Linked DNA regions of Homo sapiens: region 2 is linked to region 1. Evidence: promoter capture Hi-C in human tissues and cell types (Jung and others, 2019). All regions are on one chromosome and are shown on one strand. Each heading gives the region's core, a stretch centred on a gene start or on the middle of the fragment in contact. The rest is flanking DNA. Distances are from core to core; before and after follow the strand shown. Region 1 holds the start of ACTN4 (actinin alpha 4). Region 2 holds the start of ZFP36 (ZFP36 ring finger protein).

Evidence for each region. The method cuts DNA at HindIII sites, captures the fragments that hold promoters and counts their contacts. A contact is called where the count stands out against the background at its distance.
Region 2: a contact is called between the fragment with the promoter of ZFP36 here and the fragment with the promoter of ACTN4 in region 1, in 1 of the 25 tissues and cell types used here (dorsolateral prefrontal cortex).

Annotation. Positions count from the first base shown.
Region 1 is chr19:38,645,271-38,650,022 of GRCh38, reverse strand. ACTN4 (actinin alpha 4) reads right to left here and starts at 2,374. Exons shown (of 21, transcript NM_004924.6): 1 at 2,116-2,374. The coding sequence starts at 2,277. RefSeq lists an enhancer at 400-694 and silencers at 400-694, 653-851, 2,035-2,114, 2,345-2,534. The HindIII fragment of the contact is 19,413 bases long and covers 1-4,752 here.
Region 2 is chr19:39,405,005-39,409,756 of GRCh38, reverse strand. ZFP36 (ZFP36 ring finger protein) reads right to left here and starts at 2,910. Exons shown (of 2, transcript NM_003407.5): 1 at 2,829-2,910; 2 at 350-2,014. The coding sequence starts at 2,852. The coding sequence ends at 1,058. It overlaps MIR4530 (microRNA 4530), which reads left to right and starts at 79; the gene lies at 79-134. RefSeq lists silencers at 17-76, 2,867-3,316 and enhancers at 1-319, 582-1,219, 1,220-1,858, 1,859-2,496, 2,547-2,746. The HindIII fragment of the contact is 20,061 bases long and covers 1-4,752 here.

The DNA of each region.
Region 1 (4,752 bases), core at 1,125-3,624:
GAGACTCCAGAACAGATCTCACCTTCCCCTCAAAAAGTGAATTTATGCCAACTATCGCAACCTGTCCATCCTGCAGTAGGTGGGGCCACGGATAAGGACACCCCTCCCACCAAGCCACTGCCATGCCCCTCAGTTACTACGGATGAGGAAATTCAAGCAACGCTGGTAATGGACCCAAGGTTATGCCCGGCCCCACCTCAGGCTGCCTTGGAACAGCTGCTCCTTCCACCCTTCCCACCCTTTCCCCTCCAGCCTGGGCTAGGCTGCCTGTGCCAAGCTCCTGGCCACCAACTCGCGCCCTCGAGAGGCTTCCAGTCACTCCCCACTCTGCCAGGTCACCACTCAAAGCCCTGTAGCCTGTTCCTGAAAAATCTCCACCAAACTCACTCTCCCAAACCTTCAGAGCCCTGTCCAAAGTCCCAACTCTACACACATCCCTCTTTATTAACAGAATCACCGCAGGGAACCCTCGGATCCCTTTGCATTTTGCAGATAACAAAACTGCCCGGAGAGTTCAAGGGTCTTGTCCAAGGCCACAGAGCGAATCAGTAACAAATCTGGAAAGAAAATCCAGATCTCCAGATCCCACGAAATGCTTCCAACTTCAAGTACCTCCCACCCATTTCACGCACAAAACTTCTGAACAACCCCTTCCCCCCACACACACCCACTCACCACGCTCCTTTCTTTAGCTCTTCCTGCACACACTCAGAGCTCCCCCCTCAACCACACTGGATTTATCCCCCCCCCACAGACACTGACACCTCGCTCGGGGATCCCACTCCACTTCTGATCACCTTTTCACTGCTGTGGGGCCCTACCAAGTTGCCCCCCCCGCCCCCCAAAAAAACAGTGCCACCTGAACACAGTCTCTGCTTCAGGATCCCTTCACCTACCTCCGGTCTCTCCAAAAAAGACACAATTCTTCCTGGACACTCTCAACGCTTCCTCCCCAAACTCATTCTGCCTGCACGACACACACACGCTCTCCAGTCCCGGGACTGCACCTCCAGGAGCCAGCACCCCCTCCTCAAATTCCTTTCTCAGTCTATCCATTACGCATTCCCTTTCTAATGAGACTTTCATTTTCCTAAACGAACCTCTCTCCCATTATCCACCATTCCAGCTCACCCTCCCTCCCACCGATCTCACCTTCTCCCTCTACACTTCCTCATTCTCTCCAACGCTTTAGCTTTTCAGCTTCCCATCAATTCTTTAGAAATCCCTCCCCAAATTATCCCCACTCTCCGTATCCCCTCTACTTCGGCTTCTCCATCCCTCATCAATTCCTCTTATTATTCCTCCTATCTCTTAATCTTCTCCCCTTTGGAACAGGGCACCACAAATAAATCTCACCCCCTTCAAAAACGTCTGATTCACGGGCCCCTTAACTTCTTCCTTCCGCACCCCACCCTCCTCAGACCCCCAGTCCTGGCACCTCTACCCTCCTCACACCCTAAGCCCATGTCTTTTCATGCTCAATTCTACCCTTAGCCCCTGTTTTCATCTTCCCAGCCTCCCTAGTCTTCCCACCCGTCTTCAGACCCCACAATCTCCACTCCATCCTCACACTTGATTCTTCATCCCCTTTATAACTCCCCCAACCTGAGGCTCCCCCAATTCCAATCTCCTTCAGATCTTTCTGCTCTCCAAATAACCAACCCCTCCACACTCAAGCTCCTCCTCACACTTCCCAGACCCAGAAATTCCCTTCTCAGCCTCCCCTGATTCTCCTCCCAGCACCCCCAACCCATGCTCCGACCCTTCAAGCCCGCCTCGGATCCCAGTTCCATTTCAGCCTGCCCAGTCATCTCCTCGGTTTCCCCTAATGGCACGCCCAGACCCTCCAAATCCTTCATCAGCCTTCCCGATTCCTTTTATTTGACTCCCATATTCCCCACCCAGCCGCCAATTCTCTTTTCAGATTCCCAATTCCTTCCTCTAGCTCGGCGATTCCTCCTCAGGACTCCAATTCCCTTCCCGGACCCGCCAATTCCTTCTCGGGACCCCCCCGTTCCCATCACAGACGCTCCAGTTACCTTTCAGGACCTCCCACCCCTCCCCGGGCCCCCTCAGAAAAGCCCCTCCAGCCCGTCCGGCCCGCGGGCCGCGCACCTTGCGCTGCTGCTTCTCCCAGGCCGGGTCCAGCAGCAGGTCCCGGTCCCAGTCGTCCTCCTGGGCCATGTAGTCGCCCATGCTGCCCCCGCCGCCAGCGCCATTGCCCGCGCTGCTGGGGCCGTACTGGTACGACTGGTTCGCCGCGTGGTAGTCCACCATTCCGCCGCCTCTCGCTCGCCCACCAGCCTGTCCGCTCCCGCCTCAGCTCCCGCCCCTCTGCCCGAGCCGCCGCCGCTACCGCCGCTTCAGCTGCTTCAGCCCGCCCTCCGCCCGCGCCTGCGCACTGCCCGCCGCGCCTGCGCACAGCGCCGAGGTTGCCGCCCTCCCGCGCGCGCGCGCCTGCCAAACCAGAAAAGGCACCAAGGCCGCGCTCCGGAGCTTGGCGCCTGCGCAGAGTCCCGCTTCCTGGCCGCCCGACTCAGCCCGGGGGCGAGCCGCGCCCCCTCTCCGGCGTGAACGCGCGCGTCGTTCGCGTATGGGCGGGGCCAGATCATGAATGATTCATAAGGGCAGGCCCCGCCATCGGACCTGAACCAGCTCAGGCTTGGAATGCACTGCACCGGGTTCCCATTCAGCGACACAAATTCAACAAATATTTATTGAACACCTATTCTGTGCCAGACTATGTTTTACGCAGGCACTAAAAACAGAAAAAAATCCCAACTTTCATGAAACTACCTTCTAGTAAAGGAAGCCACATACACACAAATCTACTTTTATTTTTATTATTTTTTGAGACGGAGTCTCGCTCTGTCTCCCAGGCTGGAGTGCAGTGGCGCGATCTCGGCTCACTGCAACCTCCGCCTCCCGGATTCAAGCAATTCTCCTGCCTCAGCCTCCCGAGTAGCTGGGAACACAGGCATGCTCCACCACACCCGGCTAATTTTTGTATTTTTTTAGTAGAGACGGGGTTTCACCATGTTGGCCAGGCTGGTCTTGAACTCTTGAGCTCAAGCGATCCTCCCGCCTCAGCCTCCCAAAGTGCTGGAATTACAGGCGTGAGCCACCGCGCCCAACCAACACACAAATTTTTTTTTTTGAGACGGAGTTTCGCTCTTGTTGCCCAGGCTGGAGTGCAATGGCGTGATCTGGGCTCACTGCAACCTCCGCCTCCCAGGTTCAAGCTATTCTCCTGCCTCAGCCTCCCGAGTAGCTGGGATCACAGGCATGTGCCACCACTCCTGGCTAATTTTGTATTTTTAGTAGAGACGGGGTTTCTCCATGTTGGTCAGGCTGGTCTCAAACTCCCGACCTCAGGTGATCCGCCCACCTCGGCCTCCCAAAGTGCTGGGCTTACAGGCATGAGCCACTGCGCCTGGCCTCAACACTCAAAATTTTAAAAAATATGTAGACAGGCACAGGGGCTCACACCTGTAATCCCAGCACTTTGGGAAGCTGAGGCGGGAGGATGGCTTGAGCCCAAGAGTTCAAGGCCAGCCTAGGCAACATAACAAGAACCTGTCTCTACAAGAAATGTAAAAATTCACTGGGCATGGCTGTGTGCACCTGTAGTCCCAGCTACTCAGGAGGCTGAGGAAGGGACATCACTTGAGCCCAGGAGTTCCAGTCTGCAGTGAGCTGTGATCACACCAATGCACTCCAGAAGCGAAATCCTGTCTCAAAAATATACATAAAAGTAAAAAATAGGTAGTATTGTATATTCCAAGGTGTTGAGTATTTGGAGAAAAATCAAGCATGGGCTGGAATGCAAATAAACTACTCAGGTAGGCTTCATGGAGAAGGCAGACATTTAAACAAAGGTGCGAGCCACTGCATCAGGAAGCATCTTAAATTTAAATATTCAGCCAGGCACTGGTGGCTTACTCTTGCAATCCCAGCACTCTGGGGAGTCAAGGCTGGAAGAGTGCTTGAGCCCAAGAGTTTGAGGCCAGACTGGGTAACATAACAAGATCTCATCTCTACAAAAAAATGTTTACATTAAAAATAAATGGCCGGGCGCAGTGGCTCATGCCTGTAATCCCAGCACTTTGGGAGGCCGAGGCAGGCAGATCACGAGGTCAGGAGTTAGAGGCCAGCCTGGCCAACATGGTGAAACCCCGTCTCTACTAAAAATACAAAAATTAGCCGGGCTTGGTGGCATGCACCTGTAATCCCAGCTACCCAGGGGGCTGAGGTAGGGGAATCACTGGAACTCGGGAGGCAGAGGCTGCAGTAAGCCGAGATCGCGCCACTGTACTCCAGCCTGGGCGACAGAGCAAGACTCCGTCTAAAATAAAAATAAAAATAAATAAATAAATATCCGGCCAGGTGTGGTGGCTCACGCCTGTAATCCCAGCACTTTGGGGGGCCGAAGTGGGCGGATCACCCCAGGTCAGGAGTTCAAGACCAGCCGGGCCAACGACTCCGTCTCTACTAAAAATACAAAATTAGCCAGGCATAGTGGCACATGCCTGTAATCCCAGCTACTCAGGAGGCTGAGGTAGGAGAATAGCTTGAACCTGGGAGACGGAGGTTGTGGTGAGCCAAGATTGCACCATTGTACTCCAGCTTGGGCAACAAGAGCGAAACTCCATCTCAAATAATAATAATAATAAATATCCAAAATAGAGTTCCTGATCTTCCCCCCAAGCTTGGTCATCCCATCCCACAGTCATCCCTCTTCAATTCGTGCAC
Region 2 (4,752 bases), core at 1,661-4,160, 760 kb before region 1:
CGCCCCAGCACATTCCGTCCTCCCCACCCGGCCCCTCCCGCCTCCCGCGGCCCCGTGGGGACGGAAACATCCCGTCCCCGACCGCACCCGCCCGAAGCTGGGTCAAGGAGCCCAGCAGGACGGGAGCGCGGCGCCCCCGACGCCCGGGAACTGGCTCCCCCGGTTCCCATCTGGTGACCTCACCTGGTCCCACCCTTTCAGGTGAACGGCCAGGCCCGGTGACGTCACTTCCTGCCAGGTAAGCGCCGCGGGGCTCGGAGAGGAAGAGTTAACTGCACCCAGCTTCCAAAAAGTCACCCCCTCCCTCTCCATTCCTGTCTCTAGACCGCGAAGAAGCCAGGATCCCAGCTTACACTCAGATTGTTTATTTAAAAATGCCCAAAACACAAAAATAGACTTTTAAGGTAATAATATATATTACTAAATATATTATAGTCTACTTATAATAATTATATCGTCGTTTTCAATATTACAAAAAAAGGAAGAAAAATACAAGGGAAGCAGACGACCCAATATATATAAATACTATAAAATCATATTAGAATAAATAAAGTCGTCATAAATAAAGGGCCCATTGATTTATGGGTGGGGTTTGGCAACGGCTTTGGCTACTTGCTTTTGGAGGGTAATTTGAGCACCAGGATTCCCCCTCAGGAGAGGTTCCAGTTACCAGGAGACACTGGAACCTCAGGTCTATAAAAACTGGAGGGGCAGTGAAGGCCTATTATTCACAGCACATAAGATTCTAGGAGACAGATTTGGGCAGGGAAGAGGTGGGGGAGAGGGTTCATTGCCTCCCTTAAATATGCTACAATTTTTTTTCCCCCAAGAACCTCGGAAGACACTCCATCCCCCACCATCATGAATACTGAGCTTGCACACTTGGGGACCTGCCCCAGCGTGAGGTCAGGGGAGTGGGTTAATGCATTCTGGAAAAGGGGATTACTTGATTACTGTCCCCCAAGTCCCCACAGCCCTGGGGTCCATGCAGAGACCACAGTGCAAGAGACGTGGCTCCCCGCTGAGATCCAGCTGATCTGACCGGGCAGTCACTTTGTCACTCAGAAACAGAGATGCGATTGAAGATGGGGAGTCGCCGGGGGGCTGCCACGGGCTGGGGTGGTGCAAAAACTCCCGCCTCGAAGACGGGAGAGTCAGAGCCCCCCAGGCTGCTGCCGCTGCTGGCATATTCATCAGGGTCGGATCCCAGGGACTGTACAGAGGGGGTCCGAACCAGGCCACCCAAGGGCCCCCAGACGCTGATAGGAGTGGCCCTTCGGCAGGAGGGGCAACAGACTGGGGTGGGGTCTCTTCGAGCCAGGGGGGTGCCAGGGGCAGCAGAGAAGGCAGAGGGTGACAGTGGAAGGTCCCCAGGTGGTGGTGGGGAGCTGGAGGGCGAGAAGGAGCTGGAGGACAGGGAAGGGCCGGCCAGGCCTGGTGGTGGTGGTGAGGTCCGGCGGCCAGAGGGCAGGCCGGAGAAGCTGATGCTCTGGCGAAGCACAGGAGGGTGGCCCGGGGCCGCCAGGTCTTCGCTAGGGTTGTGGATGAAGTGGCAGCGAGAGCCGTAGGGGCAGCGGCCCTGGAGGTAGAACTTGTGACAGAGTTCCGTCTTGTATTTGGGGTGGCGATTGGCCTGGCGCAGCTCGCCCAGGCCATGGGCAAACTGGCACTTGGCCCCGTAGCGGCAGCGCCCACTCTCTGAGAAGGTCCGACATAGCTCAGTCTTGTAGCGCGAGGGGGTGGTGGAGGTTGCAGTGGGCGAAGTGGGTGAGGGTGACAGCTCAGGGCCCAGGCGGGGAGCCAGCGGTGCGAAGCCAGGGGGTGGGGGCACCCAGCCACAGCTGCGGCCCTCCACTAGGCTGGTGGAGCGGCCAGGCAGGCGGGAGGTGACCCCAGACGGGCTGGAGTCGGAGGGGCTCAGGCTCCAGGGTCCCGAGGAGCCCCAGCCTGGGCTGGACTCAGTCCCTCCATGGTCGGATGGCACGGGCACGTCAGGGCTCAGCGACAGGAGGCTCTGCGGAAATGGGTCGGTTAAGGCACCTGAAAATGCAGGGCGACGCCCCACCCCAGCTGCAGGGAACTAGAGCTTGCCAGGCCGGTTTGTGGGCTCCCCGCCTGAGCCCCACCCGCCCGCAGAAACCCCTGGGTTCCGGATGCCAGGAACCCAGAGTTGGAGGTTCTGAGTTTACCCACCACCGAGGCCTTATCCCGAGGGACCCAGGAATCCCGGCTTCCCCGGCTGGACCAAGAGGGGGACCCCGAAGTCAGGGCGCACCACTGTTTCCCAATTTTGGGTCTCTTGTCCTCCCCGGATATGACCCACGCGTCGGGATCTCCAGTTTCACAACTGGAGAAACCGGGCAAAGTTGACCTGGAAGTCCGGATTGCTTCGGTTTTAGGGTTCTCTGTCTCTACGGTCAGGGACTGGAGAGACAGAAGTCGGATCCCCCCACCCTGAGACTTCAGCCCCAGAGACGCCTCCGCGCAAAACCACGCCCTCAGCAACGACTAGGGGTGAGCCAGGTATGGGGGCCACTTCCGCCTCCAGGCAGCCTCGGTCTGAGAAAAGTTCTCCGACTTTCCACTTGCATGGGCCGCCCCACCCATGTTTGAGCGAAGAGCCGGGTGTCGCGGGTTCCATTTTCACCTCCAAATCACCAAGCTGGTCTGAGCGGGAGGCAGGGGCCCCAGGCTGGAGGGCGCGGCGCTAGGGAGCCCCAGTTGGAGAAGGGAGGCAAGCGTCCCGGGCTGGAGTTTGCGGCGCTAGAGAGGTGGGGACTCGGACTCAGGCATGCAGGTACCGGGGATGCCGTGCGGCGGGGACTCACCTCGTAGATGGCAGTCAGATCCATGGTGTAACGGTTGGCCATGAGGGGTGTCGGCCGAGAGTGGGAGCGCTGAAGTCAGGCTGAGGCTGGCACCGAGAGCCGGCTACTTATAGGAAACTGCAAGCACGGGGCGGGGCCGGGGCCGGGGCCGGGGGCGGGGCAGGAGGGGCGCTTCCCGGACGCGCGCCCCCGGCGCAGCCTGGCTGGCCCTGGACTGGTTCCCTTCCGCCCGGCCCTGGGCCAGGACGCGCCTGAGCTTGGCCGGTGGACAGCCGTGACCGAGCGGGGAATGCGTGGGGAAGGGGTGGGGGTGCGGATGGGGGGACGCCTGCCCAGTTTTCAAAGCTGGAGACTGAGGCTTGTAGAAGGAAACTGGGGCGGAGGTGGGGGCAGGGCCCCAGGGGCAATTGACAAGAGCAGAAGCCCGATGGGGGTGCGCGTGCGACACAGACGGATGGGGGCGGGGAGAGACGCAGAGGGGTACAGACAGGCAGACAGGCAGAGAGAAAAACATCGAGAGAGACACACACACCAAGAGACATACAGAGAGAGATAGACAGGGTGAGGAAGGGAGGGAAGACGGGGAGACAGAGACAGTCCCAGAGACAGATTCAGAGGGAGAAGAGGGTTGGGAGGATCACAAAAAGAAACAGAAAGGGGCTGAGCGCAGTGGCTCACACCTGTGATCCCAGCACTTTTTGTGTTTTTCTTTCCTTTTTCTTCTTCTTTTTTTTTTTTTTTGAAAGACGGGGTTTCCCTATGTTGCCCAGGCTAATCTCCAGCTCCGGGGCTCAAGCGATCCTCCCACCTCCGCCTCCCAAAGAGCTGGAATTACAGGTGTGAGCCACCAAGCCCGGCCAATCCCAGTACTTTCAGAGGATGAGGCAGGTGGATTACCTGAGATCAGGAGTTCAAGATCAGCCTGGGCAACAGTGAGATCCCATGTCTACAAAAAATACTATTTAAAAAAATTAAAAAGAAAAAGAAACTGGACAAAAAGGAGAAAGACTGTGAGAAATAAGCACTTACGGAAAGAAATCTGCAGAGCAAAGTGCCAAGAAAGAGCCAGCAGGCCTTGGAGGGGAATTCTCTGAGAACTGCCTGCCTTGTGTGGTCTCACTCCTAAACAGCCCAGACAGATAAGGAGACCTGGACTGCTCTCCCTCTCCCCACTTGCTGGGGTTGGGTGGGTGAGTGAGTGGGTTGGGTGGGGTCCAGGATACCTGGCAAGGCTGAAAAGGGGCCTCCTTTCCCAATTCACAGGGCGGCTCTAGCCCCCTCACCCTCGGGCGGATGATCTCTTCTAGGCTGAGTTAAGGAGAACTCACCTGGGCTGAGTTCTAAGTACTTTACGCACATTAATCCTAATGCCAGGTGGTATGCCCATTTAAGGCAGGAGGAAACCAAAGTGAAGTTACTCTCCTGCCCGGCTCACACCTGTAGTCCTAGCACTTTGGGCGCCCAAGGCAGGCGGATCACTAGAGCTCGGAGTCTGAGACTAGCCTGGGCAACACGGCGAATCCCCATTTCTACAAAAATGCAAAAATTAGCTGAGTGTGGTGGCGCACACCCTGTGGTCCCGCTACTCGGGGGCGGGGAGGGAGCAGGCTGGGGTGGGAGAGTCGCTTGAACCCAGGAGGCAGAGGTTGCAATGAGCCGAGATCAGGCGACTGCACTCCAGCCTGGGCCACAGAGCGAGACTCCCTCTCAGGGGGAAAAATAAAGTTACTCTCCTAGTTCGAGCTAGCAAATGGCACAGGCCTCATACTAGGGTCTGAAATTATGTCGAGGTTTGCCCTCTGAGAAAACTCAAGATTGGCAAGGTGGAGGTCTTTCACTATAACTGATGGTTGCATTGATTGAAAAAAGCTTTCAAAAAAAAAAAAAAAGGTCATCCTCAGTTGATGGCTGGATGGGTCTCTTA